Linked DNA regions of Homo sapiens: regions 2 and 3 are each linked to region 1. The links are contacts of gene promoters, found by promoter capture Hi-C in blood cells and fetal thymus (Javierre and others, 2016). All regions are on one chromosome and are shown on one strand. Each heading gives the region's core, a stretch centred on a gene start or on the middle of the fragment in contact. The rest is flanking DNA. Distances are from core to core; before and after follow the strand shown. Region 1 holds the start of PJA1 (praja ring finger ubiquitin ligase 1). Region 2 overlaps YIPF6 (Yip1 domain family member 6). Region 3 overlaps YIPF6 (Yip1 domain family member 6).

The links. Contacts are between HindIII fragments. The CHiCAGO score rates a contact against its expected background, and 5 or more counts as called.
Region 2: a contact is called between a fragment that was not itself captured here and the fragment with the promoter of PJA1 in region 1, in 9 of 17 cell types (total CD8 T cells, naive CD8 T cells, total B cells and 6 more). The highest score is 15.4, in total CD8 T cells.
Region 3: a fragment that was not itself captured here is called in contact with the fragment with the promoter of PJA1 in region 1 in 1 of 17 cell types (non-activated CD4 T cells); the score reaches 7.0 in non-activated CD4 T cells.

The regions. Positions count from the first base shown.
Region 1 is chrX:69,163,783-69,167,080 of GRCh38, reverse strand. It overlaps PJA1 (praja ring finger ubiquitin ligase 1), which reads left to right and starts at 1,628. Exons shown (of 2, transcript NM_001032396.4): 1 at 1,628-1,709. The HindIII fragment of the contact is 4,972 bases long and covers 1,224-3,298 here.
Region 2 is chrX:68,501,755-68,505,052 of GRCh38, reverse strand. All of the region lies in intron 1 of YIPF6 (Yip1 domain family member 6), which reads right to left. Among named protein-coding and RNA genes, the nearest start is that of YIPF6, 4.4 kb to the right of the region's middle. The HindIII fragment of the contact is 4,652 bases long and covers 1-3,298 here.
Region 3 is chrX:68,517,969-68,521,266 of GRCh38, reverse strand. It overlaps YIPF6 (Yip1 domain family member 6), which reads right to left. Exons shown (of 7, transcript NM_173834.4): 4 at 2,455-2,497. Among named protein-coding and RNA genes, the nearest start is that of YIPF6, 21 kb to the right of the region's middle. The HindIII fragment of the contact is 4,499 bases long and covers 1-3,298 here.

The DNA of each region.
Region 1 (3,298 bases), core at 379-2,878:
GTCTGTACATGAGCCACCATGCAACATGTTTAAATAAATTTAAACAATTTATTTGTTGAGGAGAATTAAAGTTGTTTGCATTATCTTGCTACACTCCTATTCACATATCTTTCTCCATTTGTGTGTCTCAATAGAACACACAATAGAGCAATTGACTAGAAGTAGAATTGCTAGATGAAAATGTATCTCCATTAAAAAATTTGATAGTTTCAGATTTCTCACCAATGAAGTTCTATTATTGTTATTATTATCATCATCATTTTGAGATGGCATCTTGCTTGGTTGTCCAGGCTGGAGTGCAGTGGCGTGATCTTCACTCACTTCAGCCTCAACCTCCTGGGCTCACACAATCCTCCTGCTTCAGCCTCCTAAGTAGTTGGGACTACAGGCACACACCACCAGCTTGTCATATCTTTCTCAGTGAATAAAGCAACCTGTTTTGTTCTCTTTAGTTCTTTTTACTTTGAGTTCTCGATGTTTAGGATATTGATATTGTTACGAGTTTGTTTCCTCCTTCCTTTCCTTCCTTTTTTTTTTTTTTGCTTCTTTCCTTCCCTCATTCCCTCTCTCCCTTTTTTCTGCTAGTATTTTACTCTCATATATTTTTTATTCCTATTTCTGCTTTAGGTGAAACTCACATAAATAGAATATAACTTAGCTTTTAAAAACAAAATGCTCAAAATAAGAGTTTGGTTTTTATTAGGAGATGTTAACCCATAATGCATGCTGATATATTTGGATTCCTGCATTTTTGTTTTCTTTTTGCATCCTTTTTTTTGTACCCCCCCAGCAACATTTCTTGACCTTTGTTAAGAATGAGTTTTTCTCTTTGTTCCACATATTATTACTTTAATGGTTTGAAAGTTATACATTTTATTTCTATTATGTTGTTACCCCTAAGATTTTTGTTCTATTATGCATTTTGTTTCCAGTAAGAACAAAACTTTGCTACTGTTGTGAACATGGGAAATGTTTACATTGGCTGTAAATACTAGAGTTCCATTATAAAGCGCAATTTAAAGACTTCAGAATTCAGTAAAATGGTATAAATCCAAAAGGCGTAACTACAATATTTTTAACTGCAATGCAATAACAGAATATGAACCTGTGTTGTGTCCTATGATCTCTTGGACAGAGAAGCTTGGTTTTGTGATTAGCAGCAACAAATTCAACATAAACAGCTTCAATTTGCTTTAACCATCAGGTTAAAAAAAATTTAAGCTTACTGCAACCCTAAATATGGTTTCACAGTTTTAATACTTTCGGTACAACCATAACACGTAACATAGGATGTGATGTAGTAACGTAATTACTCTCACATTGGACTTAATCAGAAAGAATTTGCAGATTTTATTTTATTTATTAAAAAACCAGAAGGCAATATAGCTAAATGTTTAACATTAGTTAAAGCTGGGTGTTTGTGACATTTTTCGCTGTCCTTTTCTGTATCCTTGACGATTTCATCATTTAAGATGAAATAATGCTTTCGGGCCCACCCTGATTTGTGGAGAGCAGCTGCCGCCCCCGCCACATCAAGGAGGCGGGCTCCAGCTGACTTCACAATCACTTCCGCCGCCGCAGTCGCCGCCCGCCCCGCTGCTGTCTGGCGGGGGAGGAGCTCGGGACCGGGAGCAGCGGCTCTGGCGGTCGTGGCGGTCGGAGATCCGAGAGCTCTGCTTCTCTGAAAAGCGTGTGGCTTTCTGGACTTGGTGAGTGAAAGGCTGATTGTTTCCTCGATTCATCCGGGCGCTGGCGGTGGCGCGAGTGGCCGGGCGCGGGGCGAGTGGCCGGGCACGGGGGCGAGGATTTTGGGGGGTTCCTGGGAACTGCTTTTCAGGTTCGCCCCTCGGGAAGGGGTGGGGCGGACGCGGGACCTGACTGCAGAGTGAGGCCCATGTCCTCCATCGGCCTGTTCTGGGGCCACATCTTCCGCTGCCGGAACCCCTTTGGTGTGGCGCGGTCCCCACTCGAGTGGCTTTCATCGCTATTGGGAGGGCAGTGGTGGTCGCGGCCCTCTCCCACTTCTCCCTGCCTCTCCTCCCCTCTCCTTCCTTCTTCCCTCCTCGGCCCCTTTGCGGAGCACTCCGTGGCCTTTCTTCCCATATTTTGCTGTTGTTTTGCCAAATGGTAAATGGTTAAGATTTTTAGGTAAAAATACTGTTCCCAGGGAAAAAATTGGAAGGAAAAAATAATTATTCTCAGGGAAAACTAGACCCACGCACGCCCTTTTCTTTCATTTTCCCTCTCCCCTGCCACATCGGTTGGGGTCTCCCGTTTGAGCTGATGGCCTTTTCCCACCTCTTTTTATGACATTGCGTCCCCCCTACCCCCCACCCCCCGTGTGTCGCGAGCACGCGCCCCCGCACAGAAGCCTTCCATTGCAGCCCCCTCCTTGCCCCTCCATCCTCAAGGTTCCAGTGCTTCCCCTCCCCCGCGCATGCGCAGGCACACGCAGCACACACCCTCTCACACACCCTCACACCCTCACACCCTCCCATGCCTTCCCCCTCCTCTATCCGCCTACCACATACACACCTCTAGCACCGGCCCCCTCCCTGCTCGGCCTCTGCGTGCTCTCGCGAACACATGCCTATTCACACACCCCCTCCGGCTGCCCTCCTTCTTCCTTCCTGTCATATACACACATAAGGACATCCTTCTATCGCTGGCCAGTGACATACATATGTAGCCACATGTGCTCATTCATACCCCCTTCTCAAATGCTCTCCTCTATTGCTCTGTCTGCCACGTGTGTCAGACACAGCTCTCTTTTGCTGGTCCCTGAGGTGCACACACTCGCACTCACATAAATCCTTCTACGGGGACACAACCTGCCTCCCTGCTTGCCATATCCACACAGGCAGGCATCATTCTTTGATTGCCTGCCTCTGTTCCATCCACCTCAAGCACATCCCTCTCCAGTGCTGCGCACCCCCCACCCCCGCTTCCATTTGTGCCTGCTGCATTTGCTCACACTGACATTTCTCCATTGTTGCCTCCCATTTTGACTAACATACACACACACAAACTCTCAGACACTCCTCTCCATTGCCAACCATACACTCCTCTGCCTGTGACATACGCATAAACATGGGCATCCTTCTGTAGTTTCAGCTGCCTCACATACAGCTACACACACAAACACCTTCCCTTTCCTCATACATACACGCACCCCTCTCCTCCAAAGCCACCCCACCCATGCCTGTCATTTTCATACCCACATCCAGAATGGGTCTCATTCTAACACTCATACCCTTTCCCCCTACAAACGTAAACATCCCTCTGTTGCAGGATTACT
Region 2 (3,298 bases), core at 461-2,960, 660 kb after region 1:
TTTTCAGTTTCCCTGTTGCCTGCTACTGCTAGGAGAAGCATTGTAGTACAGTAGGAAAAAAACAGGCTTTAAAGTCAAACAGGGATCTCACATGGAAACAATACTGCTATAAAGATAAATAACACTGCACAGCACCTAGCACATACTCAATGCTCAACATGGTATTTGGAGAATACTGGTTAAGAGTGCAGGCCAAATAGCCTGAGTTCAAATCCCAGTTCCATCTTGTACTATCCATGTGACACTGAGCAGGTTACTTAGCCTCTCTGTGCTTCAGTTTCCTCCTCTGTAAAATTGAGATAATGGTACCATCATCACAGGGTTATTGTGAGGAAGAAATGTATTAATACAGGAACACAATAGGGGCTGGATAAATGTTAGCTCAAGTTCAAGATTCCCATGGAGTCAATTCCAGTTCTGTCACTACTGTATAATAAAGAATTTAGCTGGCCTTTGTCCCCTGTACTTGAGAGTTAGCCTCTAAACTTAGAATTTCCTGAATGACAGAGGAGTATTTTTGATATTCACAGGGGCTCTGGTAGTTTATGCTTACAGGTGAGTCACAGTAGGCCCTTACGTAGTTTGTACTCTGGTGATGACTCAGGATGGGGGCTAACCACGTCAGAAACACCGCACATATGACTAGAGGTTTGGGGCTTTAAGTCACAACATATAAGCCCAAACTTTCGGGAGTGGTGGGACCCTGGAGATTGAGTTCCATTATGTGAGCAATGGTCCAATTAATCATAATGAAACCCCAATAAAAACTATAGACACATGAGTGAACTTCCCTGATTGGCAATACTCTGCATATTGTCACATACCAGCAAACCAGGAGGGTAACATGTCTTGAATCCACAGGGACAAGACAAGGAATCTTTGTGTTTGGGACCCTGTCAGACCTCGCCCTGTGTATCTCTCTCTTTTGCACATTTGGATTTGTATCCCTTTGCTATAATAAAACTGTAATTTTAAGTAGAGTGCTGTTCTGAGTCCTATGAGTCATTCTAGTGAATTATGAAACCTGAGGGGAGGGCCAGGTGCCGTGGCTCACGCCTGTAATCCCAGCAATTTGGGAGGCCAAGATGGGCGGATAACTTGAGGTCAGGAGTTCGAGACCAGCCTGGCCAACAGGGTGAAACCCCGTCTCTACCCAAAATACAAAAGTTAGCCGGGCATGGTGGCATGTACCTGTAGTCCCAGATACTCAGGAGGCTAAGGCAGAGGCTGCAGTGAGCTGAGATTGTGCCAAAAAAGAAATAAACCTGAGCGGAACGTGGGAACCCGTGAATTTGTTGCTACTTGCTCTGAAGTGAGGATGGTCCTGGGAACCCCCAAAATTGTGGCTGGTGTCTGAAGAGCAGTCTTGTAGAGGACTGTGCTTTTAACCTGTGCAGTTTGGCCTAACTCCAGGTAGTTGGTATCAGAAGTCTCTGTAGTCACTGAAGTCCCATGTGATCCCCTACTCTCTCCCCTTTGTCTCTTCAAGAATCAGCAACAGTGTTCCATGAGCTGAGTCAGGAACTATGGCCCTCCAGCTCCATGTATAAAAGACAGGACTTCCAGGACCTCAGCTAATGGACCCTGCTCTCTGTCTAGCCCTCAGCGGGAAAGGCGACTTGGATCCATGTCCCTCCCCTTTCCCATCAGCAGGCAGGCTCTTGCACATATATAGATGTGCTCACAGAAACACACATGAACATTGCTCTGCCTGGCTTGGGCCAGTAAGGGGAACAGGTAGAGGCAGGGCCAAAAAACACACAATAAAAGCAGGGACTGCAACCCTAAAAAAAATAGCTGGGAGCAAATGGGTTATACTATTGACCAAAATCCTGGAAAAAGGAATCAACACGGGGAAGCATGAAGCAGGAATCAGCTCAAAGAGGCCTGGCTCCCAGGAGTGGATGACGGGGTAGCCAGTGGCATGGTCTCCAGCCAGCCCCTTCACCTGGGGCCAGCTTCCTCATAGCCTGAGATCTTCCAAAGATCCCAGACTATAGTTCAAGACCAGCCTGGCCAACACTGTGAAACCCTGTCTCTACTAAAAATACAAAAATTTGCTGCACATGGTGGTGCATGCCTGTGATCCCAGCTACTTGGGGAGGCTGAGGCAGGAGAATCACTTGAACCTGGGAGGCAGAGGTTGCAGTGAGCCGAGGTGGCACCATTGCACTCCAACCCTGGGCAACAAGAGCAAAACTCCGGCTCAAAAAAAAAAAAAAGACCCCAGACTGCAGCCATTATTACAGCCTATCTCTTCTTCCTGCCCCCTAAATACAGGCATTACCCAAGATTCTGTCTTTTTAACCCTGTGCAGATGACTCCTAAATCAACAACTCTAGGCAAGACCTCTTCTGCGCCCTGAAGTGCATGTTTTAAAGTCCAACTGCCTGTTGGATATCTATTGAATGGCCTGCCAGTATCTCAAACTAAACATGTCCCAAACTGAATTAGTCAACTTTTAAGGCCCTCATCCAGCTAACCCTCCTTATATATTATCTATTTTTGTTCAGAGTGTCACTATACTCTTGGGTGTCTATAGCCATGCTCTTCAAAATGTGGTACTGGGAGCAGCAGCAGCAGCATCTCCAGGGAGTCTGTAAGAAATGCAAAATCTCGGGCCCTATCCCAGACCAACTGAATCAGAACCTGCAAATTAACAAGATTCCCCAGATGACTGCTAGCACACTAAAGTTTGGAAAATACTGATCTAAGACAAATCCTCCTTCACACGCTACAAACCCTCGTGGATTCTGCCTTGTCTCAAATCCTCTTGTCTCCTGCCACTGCTGTTGTCCAGATCCTTATCATTTCTTCTCAGAACTACTGTAACAGCTTCACTGGCCCTCTAGATTCCAGATATTCCCCCACTGTAACTTACCCTCTATTATGTTGTCCAATTCATGATTTCAAATTCTTCCCTCCTCAAAAATTTCCACTGGCTCTTTGTAGCCCATTAAGCCTCCCAGGTTAGTAGCCAATAATAAGAAATAACACATTGCATTATTATATGCCAGGCATTCTATTAAGTGTGTTAATTTATCCAATGTGTTAACTCATTCCACCTAATAACCCTATGAACTAAGTATTGTTATATCTCTATTTTACAGATGGGGAAACTGAGGCAAGGAGGGGTTTGGTAATTTCCCCAATATCCCACTAGTTAAGTGACAGTGCTTAGAATCAAACCTAAGCAAGCTGACTCCAGAGTACACATTCCAAACCACCACTGTTCCATACTGCCTCCCTAACTCAGTAGGCTTACCTCTGAAGGCTTATCTCCTAATAATTCTCTGTG
Region 3 (3,298 bases), core at 245-2,744, 650 kb after region 1:
CCTGAAGATCTGTAATATGTAGGTTGTGCTAAAAGGAAAATGACACAAGCATTTGGCAAGGCTCCCTTACTGCAAATTCCAAATGCCTCAGGACTACAAGGGGTGCTCCATTTGACCTTGTTGAAATGTTTAAATGAATTATTGAAGACCTTTTTTTTAAGCAGAGGTTATAAACTGAAGGGTCAAATGTGGCTCATATATAATGAGGCCTTGGGCTTATATAATATTTAAGATGATTTTGAATTTAAGTTGACACTATTTTATTTCACATAAGAATATGAATTTCTAGATTTTCTTGAAAAAACTGTTAGACTTTCTAACATTGAGCCTGCATTCCAACACTGCAACAATCAAGTGTAACTGACATAAGTACAAGGGGCTTACAGTCACCATATCACTACTACATGCATTTAGGTTACTATTCTAGCCTTTAGACACATCAGAATTTGTAGTTCTTGGGTTAAGATTTCAGTTGAGATATTTAAAAATGGAAATAGGCCAGGTATGGTGGCTTAGCCTGTAATCTCAGCACTTTGGGAGGCCACGACAGGCAGATCGCTTGAGGCCAGGAGTTCGATACCAGCCTGGGCAACATGACGAAACCCCCGTCTCTACAAAAAATAAAAAATTAGTTGGCCATGGTGGTACACGCCTATAGTCCTAGCTACTAGAAAGGCTGAGTTGGGAGAATCGCTTGAGCCTGGGAGGTTGAGGCTGCAGTGAGCTGTAATCACACCACCAACTCAGCCTGGGTAACTGAGTGAGACTGCCTCAAAACAAAATAAAAATAATAAATAAAAATGGAAACAGTCTATAAACCTTTTTAGTTGTTGATTTTTAAAAAATCAAAACATACAGATTATTACTAAAGGGTTTTGCTTTGGAATTGAGTAGTTGAACAACCACTTAAATATCCTTTCTTTGTCTAAGAATTTTACAGATATAAACTGTTTTGAATATTTGGACTTGGTGTTATTACCAAGAAAAATAATAACTGTAAGCTCACAACCTCTTCTTATTAAACAGTATAGAGAAGTCACACTGTAAGTCTTTCTTGCCCTGCTATGCTACTTGGCAGTATGCACAGGCTTTTGTATTCTATGATATGCATATTCCATTCCAAGTCGTGACAACCAGATGCAAAGAATGGCCAGCACTCATCACTTGTTGTCTGGAATCCCTGTTGCTTCAGCATGGTATGATGGAAAGAATATTAACTAGCCTGGAAGGCAAGAGACCCAGATACTGATCCTAATTCTGTCACTAGATATGTCACTTGATGTCCTGGGACTCCAGTTTTCTCTGCAACTAAGTGGGGTTAAACTACATAATCTATAAGGTTAAACTTTCAAAAGTAAAAAAAATATATATGCTCGGGACATCTAATATAAACCCCTCCATCAAGGCATTAGGCTGCATCCCTTAACATGGTTACTAAAAGCATAAGAAATAGTACTCTACATTATTACCTAAATTAATATATGCTCAATTTAAATTTAAAAAATTAGAGAGGTCAGCAAGAAACTTAGTGAATTTAGACCCATAAAGGGTTAAGCCTGGAAAGGACCCTCAACCACTCCCTTTACAGATATGGAAGAGGCGACCCAGAGTGACCAGGTGGGAAGAGATGTGTAATGAACCCTAGAGGTACAAAATAGGTAGTGAGGAAACCTGAGGTTGAATCTCAGGTCTACCACTGATTATGTGATCTTGGTTAAATCCTCAACCTTTTTGAACCTGAGCTTGTTTGTCAAAAAAAAAAAGAAAAATAAAATAATTTTAATTATTGCAATGAGGTTAAAATAAGAGAAAGTATTTTAAAGTTTTCTGCAAACTGGGAAAAATTATACAAACATTGGTTATTAGTAGCCCAAAGTCACATAGCTAGCTGACAGCAGAGTCAGAATGCGAACTCAGAACTGAATTCCAGGGCAGTATTTTTTCCCGCTCTATCAATGGTTATATTCATCTCTCTAGTGTAACCTTCTTCTCCTTCCCCGTCCTCTTCCTTTACCTACAATGTGTATGGAAAAGTACAACACTCTGAAACATGATCTTGCTTTTAACTCTCCTAATTTATTCTCATTCTCATTCATATTTTTAGTAAGATTACAGAGAATTATGTTTGCAAACAAAGGGTGCTTAAACCTTAATTCACTTAGTTTAATAATAGGGAGGAACAGGAGAGTAAATAAGTAAATAAATGTTTGTTGAATAGACATGGCTAAAACAGACTAAAATGTCATTGGTTAAGGAAGGTGAGCCTAATTTCATCATATTTTAATTGATTTGGAAAGTGACTTTAGAGGCTTAAATACCTAAGGAGTATAACATGTACAACATGTCATATAAGTCCTAAATGAAATATTCAATCAAAATCCCCCACAATTTTGGAAATCCACAAAAAAGTCTAGTCTAGCTCAAATGACAAAGAAAGAAAATGCAAGTACTTACAATGCGAGTGTCACACAAAGGATCAAAGGGCCCCACAAATCCCCTACAAGACAAGAAAAGACAGAAGCGAAGGTAATATTTTCTGTCTTTATTCTAATATCTACCTCTCTCCCTCCTAGAATTCAGACATCAAGGCTCTCTTTGGCTGGCCAAGCCTTCCTACCTCTCCTCTCCCACCACCTGCCCTCCCTGTCCCCTAATCCTGAATGCACTTCTTTACATAGACTTCCAGTTTCGCTTATTTCATATCCCACAAATCACCCTTTCCTTCTCCCCATCTACTAAGACACATGCTGGCACGCTATAATTAAAGACCAATGGACAAACAATCAGCAGACCTAGGTTCCCTACCCCATATTCTAAGAAAAAAAGACTATAGCCAAGGCACTTTACCAGTCAGAGACTGCATTAGACAAGGCAAGTATAATCATGCTCAGTTCACAAATACAAAAAATGAAGCTGAGAAGGAAATGACTTGCCTAGCTTTATATGTGGAGGTGGGACCAGAACCTAGGGCTATTGATTTTTTTTTTTTTTTTTGAGATGGAGTTTGGCTTTTGTTGCCCAGGCTGGAGTGCAATGGCGCAATCTCAGCTCATAGCATCCTCTGCCTCCTGGGTTCAAGCAATTCTCCTGCCTCAGCCTCCCGAGTAGCTGGGATTACAGGCACCCGCTATCATACTTGGCTAATTTTTGTGTTTTTAGTAGAGACGGGGTTTCACCATGTTGGCCAGCATGATTTCGAACTGACCTCAGGTGATCTGCCTACCTTGGCCTCCCAAAGTGCTGGGGTTACAGGCGTGAGCCACCGCACCTGGCCTGATTCTTTTCTTTTTTTTTTTTT